Regions from separate parts of the Homo sapiens genome. Here region 1 is linked to region 2. The links are contacts of gene promoters, found by promoter capture Hi-C in blood cells and fetal thymus (Javierre and others, 2016). All regions are on one chromosome and are shown on one strand. The core of a region is centred on a gene start or on the middle of the fragment in contact, and the rest is flanking DNA. Distances in the headings are between cores, read along the strand shown.

Region 1 (2,759 bases), core at 104-2,603, 110 kb before region 2:
GTATTGCTGGATAGCATGAGCAACAGACAAGTTTTTGGTTGTTTGTTTTTTTATAATAAGCATGACATATTGGTGATTTGGAAGCATTAATGGAGTACAAAAAGGATAACCAGGGATCCCAAGGTCCATGAAGTATAGATGAAAGAGCAGCCTCCTTTGCAGAGGGCTGTAAAAATGGCGTTTTCCCGAGAGACCCAGGTTTCTATGAAAGCAAAAATGGAAGGAACATTCACCGAAGAGTTTGAGGATATAAAGGAACACAGTTTTATGCCACATAATTGAAAGTTAGAATGTGGACCGTGCCAGGGGAGAAGTAGGAAATTGGACCAAGAAGAAGCAGAGAGCAGTGACTTGAGGATAAGAAAACTGAGAAGAATATGGTTTGGAGAGAAACAGGAATAACTAGAATGTGAGACTGGTGAGTTGGTGACATTGCCAGCCTTGTGGTTGCCTGAGAATTGACCCCGTCTTCCCCAGGGGTTGGGCACTCAGGCTGCTACGTGCAGGCAGCCACAACCTGATTTAAGGATACCTCCAAGGAGGCACATCTGCTCTCTGAAAGGGGTCTACTGTGGTCTGGCTCAAAGTTGAGGGCCTCGAAAAGTCTCAGGGGTAAAGGCTCTTGCCCCGACAACAAAGTGGATACTCCCTCATTCAGTTAACAGATTTGTTGAGCAACTAATATGTATCAGGCAATATTCTGTGGTCTGAGGATATACCAGTGAACAAGACAATCAATAAACAAAAATTATTATAAATAAAGTTTTTAGGATTTTGGAAGGTGATAAGTGCTGTGAAAGAAAATAGAGCAAGACAAGGGAATGCTGTTGAAGAGATTGCAAGTTGCAATGGGACAGTCAAAGTAGAATTCATTGAGAAGGTGACATTTGAGGAAAGAGTCAAAGGAAGAGAGGCAGAGCATTCCAGGAAGAACCCTAAGGAAATCTCAGTCTCCATTATAAGGAATATGACACAACGAGCCAGGAATGTGCCCATTAGTCCAGGAGAGAGATGAGTCATCTGGATTCCTTGAAGGAGCCAGATCCTGGTGTCCAAGTGTGACTTTCCTGAGCCGACGTGGGCCTTCTGGGAGCAGATTTAATTAAATGGAAGTTTCATCTATTTCTGCTGGGTGTGGGCAGGTGCTCTGTGCTCTGGGAAAGCTCCTGTCTGCTGCCACAGTGTGGTGTTTTACAGTTGCCATGTGGGCAAGAGCATGGGGACTTTAATGCTCAGTCTAATTTCATAAGGAATTCCATGTGAAGACACAAAAATATGAAAATGAAAGCAAACAACTCTTAACCCCCAGAGCCTTGTGAAAAACCAGGTCATTTGTAATAGTGTATAAACATGGAGCAGTCTAAATATAGCCTGAGGTGAGTTTAACACTTCTAAAACAGCCTGTCAAGTTCCCTAGGGCTGCAAGGGGAAAGCATTTATTGAGCACCTACTATATGCCCAGTGGTGCACTAGGTACTTTCTATGTTACCTGTTCCCACAACATTTGCTTAGATAATCTAATCCGGTATCATGGCTTTAAATATCATCTATATGCTGATGACTCCTATATTTATATCAAGCCCAGTTCTCTTTCCCCACACTCCAGACTCATTTACCCAATTGCTTCCTTCATTTGGATATGTATTAGGCATCTCACACTTAACATGTCCAGAACCAAACTCCAGATTCACACCCCTGCCTCCCAGAATCTTTTCTACCCCAGGAAATGGCAGCTAACTACATCCTTCCAATTGCTCACATCAAATACTGTAGCATCATTTCTTTGACACTCAAATCTGATATCAGCAAACCTTATTAGCTTTACCTTAATATCCTCAGATCCAGCCACTTCTCACTACCTCTGTATCATCACTCTGTCCAAACCACCATCTCTCACCTAATTTTTGCACTCCTAACTAGTCTTCCAGATTTTATGCTTGCTTCTCTGTGGTCTATTTCCACACTGAAGCCAAAGTGATCCCATTAAAATACAAGATAGATCTTGTTACTCCTGTGATCAGAACTCCCCAATGGCTCCCCATTTCTTGTAGAATGAGAGCCAGAACCTTTATAGTGCTCATCAAGGCCCTACATGGTCCACACCTTCGTTTCTTGTTGCTCTCCTTCTTGTTTATTGTTTTATCCTGCGCTCCTTGCTGTGATTCGGATATTCCAGACCTGTTCCCGCCTCAGACTCTTGGCATTTGCTCATTCCCTTGTCTGGAACACTCTTCCCCAGATACCTGAAGAGATTGCGCACTCTCTTGCCTTTTTAGAACATAGTTCAAATGTCACCTTCTTAATAAAGTCTCCTTTGCCCATCCCATTTAAAATCATAGCCCCATCCCCTATTGGCGTTCCCTGTTCCCCTTTACTGTGTCATTTTCTCCAGGGTATCTATCACTCTCGGATGCCACATATGTTTTATTTACTTGTTTATTGTCTGTCTCCATCTACTAGAGTGTTTCTTCTGTTTTGTTCCCTACTATTTTCTAACACCAAAACCAGTATCTACTGTATTACTTAGTGATCAATTAATAAATATTTGTTGCATGGATAAATGGTGGACAACTCTGTGAAGTAGATGGTATTTAAATGCATTTTAACAAATGTGAAAATGATATAGAAGGGATAAGTAATTTGCTTATGTTCACAGAACTAAATGTGATCAAGCCAGTCTTTGAACCCTTCTCTGCCTGGCTCCAAACTTTTTTACTTTTCTCACTATTCAACTTAGCTTTCTGTTTTTTCCAAATTCA
Region 2 (2,758 bases), core at 7-2,506:
TTGACAATTCCCAAATTGCCTTTGCCAGCGCAGCTCTCTCTGCTTCCTTCCAGGCTACAAATTCACCGGCTTCCTGAACATTTCCACTTGGATAATCCACAGGCCCTTCCAACTCAACATGTCCAACACCGAACTCATGAGCCCCTGCCTTTCCTCCCAGGAGCCGGGATGTACCCCTCCCCCAGGTCACCCCGCCAAAGGCACACTTTTGCAGGGTCTACCTACCTCCTCACCCTATCCAGTCAGGCACTAATGAATTTTCAAAATTGCGTGTTCCAGATTGGGGCCTGGCAGCCCCACGCTCCCCTCATGCCCTGCATCAGACCTCATCCTCTTTCCACAGCAGCCTCCACCTTTCTCTCCAACCCCATCCTCTTTACTACAGCCAGAGTCATCCACAAAAAATGCCTGTCTGATTACACCATTCTGCTCAAAACCCTCCCATGGTCCCCAGTGTTAGGATCTTTCCATCCATGTTACTCACCCAGCCCTCAACCCACCTGCCAAATTGCCATAATTAGGCATCTGAAATGCTGCCCTCCAGCTACCTACTTCAAGACTCAGCTCAGATGTTCCTCCTCTGTGACCCCTGCCTTCAGCCCTCAGTACCCACTTCTGCCAACACTGCCCCTGCTGTGCCCCAGTGACTCCCGTGTTTGCAAGTGTGTCCGTACTCCAAGCCCTAAGCAGCACAGGAGGTGAGCTGTGGGGAGACTAGAGCAGAGTCAGATCCTGAAAGCTGCGCAGAGGCTAAGCAACCCAACAAGGCAGGTGAACTGGCCGCTGAGAGAAGAATCGGGTGGAGCAGAGAGCAGCTGCTGCAGGGCAGACAGCCGGACCCCCAAATCTGCACGTACCAGCAGTCAGCCGCCCCACGCAGGGACCGGCTTACCCCTCGCTCCCCGCCCTCACTCACTTTCTCCCGCCCTCGGCCCGGCCTCCCAGCTCTCTACTTCGCGAGTCTACAAACTCAACTCCCGGTTTCCGTGCCTCTCCACCGCTCGAGTTCTCTACTCTCCATATCCGAGGGGCCCCTCCCAGCATCTACCCCCCTCCCAACCTCGGGGGACCTAGCCAAGCTAGGGGGGACTGGATCCGACGGGTGGAGCAGCCAGGTGAGCCCCGAAAGGTGGGGCGGGGCAGGGGCGCTCCCAGCCCCACCCCGGGATCTGGTGACGCTGGGGCTGGAATTTGACACCGGACGGCTGCGGCGGCGGGCAGGAGGCTGCTGAGGGATGGAGTTGGGCCCGGCCCCCAGACAAGGCCCGGGGGCTCCGCCAGCAGCAGGTCCCTCGGGCCCCAGCCCTCGCTGCCACCCGGGCCTGGAGCCCCACACCCGAGGTAAGCCAGCCCACTTGCCTGTTTCTGGTCCCAGCCCTGGATGGACGCTCTTGGGCTGGGGGAGAGGACAGGACCACCCCCCTCCTCTCCTTTCTTGCATCCTCCCTCTCTTGGGCCCTCGGCACAGTTCTCCGCCCCTCCCAGCCCCTCAGTCCCTCTTGTCGCTTGTTGGACTGTGCTGGCCTTGCCGGCCCACTGTAATGTGAGGCTCCCGCTGCCGCTACAGGGTGCAGACTGGCTGCCAAGGCCACACTTTTGGCTAAAAGAGGCACTGCCAGGTGTACAGTCCTGGGCATGCGCTGTTTGAGCTTCGGGGGAGAGCCCAGCACTGGTCCCCGGAAAGGTGCCTAGAAGAACAAGGTGCAGGACCCCGTGGTGAGTAGCGGGCTGGTGGATGGGGAGGCAAGGGCCAGAGAACCAAATGGCCCTAGACCACAAGGAGGTAGGAGGCAGGGCCTGAGCTGCCCTCAAGAGACCTGCTCCCGGGCTCCCCCTAGCGCAGAGGGCTCCTAAGGCTGCCCTGCCTGCCTTTCCCTCCATCACGGACAACAGTCACTGGCCTGGCTCGGAGGCCTTGATTCCACTTAGCCAAGAGGCACACACCAGGACCTGGAGGACAACCCCGGGAAGGCCTGGGGGTCTGTTCCACAGGTGTGCAGGCATTCTGTGTGCTAAAGGATGGGGATGAGGGTGGTAGCTGGGACCCAAGAGGAGGCTGGCTAATGAGGACTTACGAAGGCTCTAGGGCCCCAAAAGGGTGTTTGGGAGTGCTAGCAGTGGGAGCTCAGGAAGGCTGGCTGGGATCAGGAACGATGGCTCAAGGGGGAAACTTCTAGGAGCATGACTAGGCTGCCAGATCCATAGGAGGCTGGGAGGGGGACAGACCTAGACCAGCTCCCAGGGTGGCTCAGCTCTCAGAGACCAGGCTGGTATGGAAGCCTAGCTGGCCCTCCTGGGAGTGGCTCAGGCCTGAGTGTAGCTGAGGGGATGGAAAAGCCCACCCTGCTTGGAATCTGCAGGCTTGGCAGACTCTGCCCCCTTGTGGCCACAGGAAGCCATGACCCAGGCCCCATGTTTTCAGAGGGCCCATTAGCTCCCACCATCCCCCGGCTCTGTGGTCATCGAGGGACACCTATAGTCAGAGGAGAGAACTCAGGTGGCTCTGGGTCCAGAACACAGTTCACAGAGGGGCGAGGTGAAGCAGCTCTGGGTGGGCAGCACAGGCTGAGGCTTGGGGCTCACTATCATTAGATAACTCTTAGAGTGACCAGCTAGCACCCTAATTCTTCTCCAGCCCTCAGCTTCCTCTCCGGCAGCCTGGGGTGAAGGCCTCTGTAGGACCAAGTGTGTCCAGCTATAACTCCTTCCAGCCACTTCTGGCATCTCCAGACCTACAACGCAGAGCAGGAAGGTTCTG

The links. The method cuts DNA at HindIII sites, captures the fragments that hold promoters and counts their contacts. A CHiCAGO score of 5 or more calls a contact.
Region 1: a contact is called between a fragment that was not itself captured here and the fragment with the promoter of ARTN in region 2, in 2 of 17 cell types (endothelial precursors and M2 macrophages). The highest score is 5.3, in endothelial precursors.

What each region holds. Positions count from the first base shown.
Region 1 is chr1:43,821,216-43,823,974 of GRCh38, forward strand. The region is part of intron 4 of ST3GAL3 (ST3 beta-galactoside alpha-2,3-sialyltransferase 3); the gene reads left to right. Among named protein-coding and RNA genes, the nearest start is that of MIR6079, 16 kb to the right of the region's middle. RefSeq lists an enhancer at 156-1,355. The HindIII fragment of the contact is 2,881 bases long and covers 1-2,759 here.
Region 2 is chr1:43,932,545-43,935,302 of GRCh38, forward strand. It overlaps ARTN (artemin), which reads left to right and starts at 1,257. Exons shown (of 5, transcript NM_057091.3): 1 at 1,257-1,341; 2 at 1,568-1,716. RefSeq lists enhancers at 1-19, 649-698 and silencers at 1,209-1,298, 1,849-1,898. The HindIII fragment of the contact is 8,131 bases long and covers 1-2,758 here.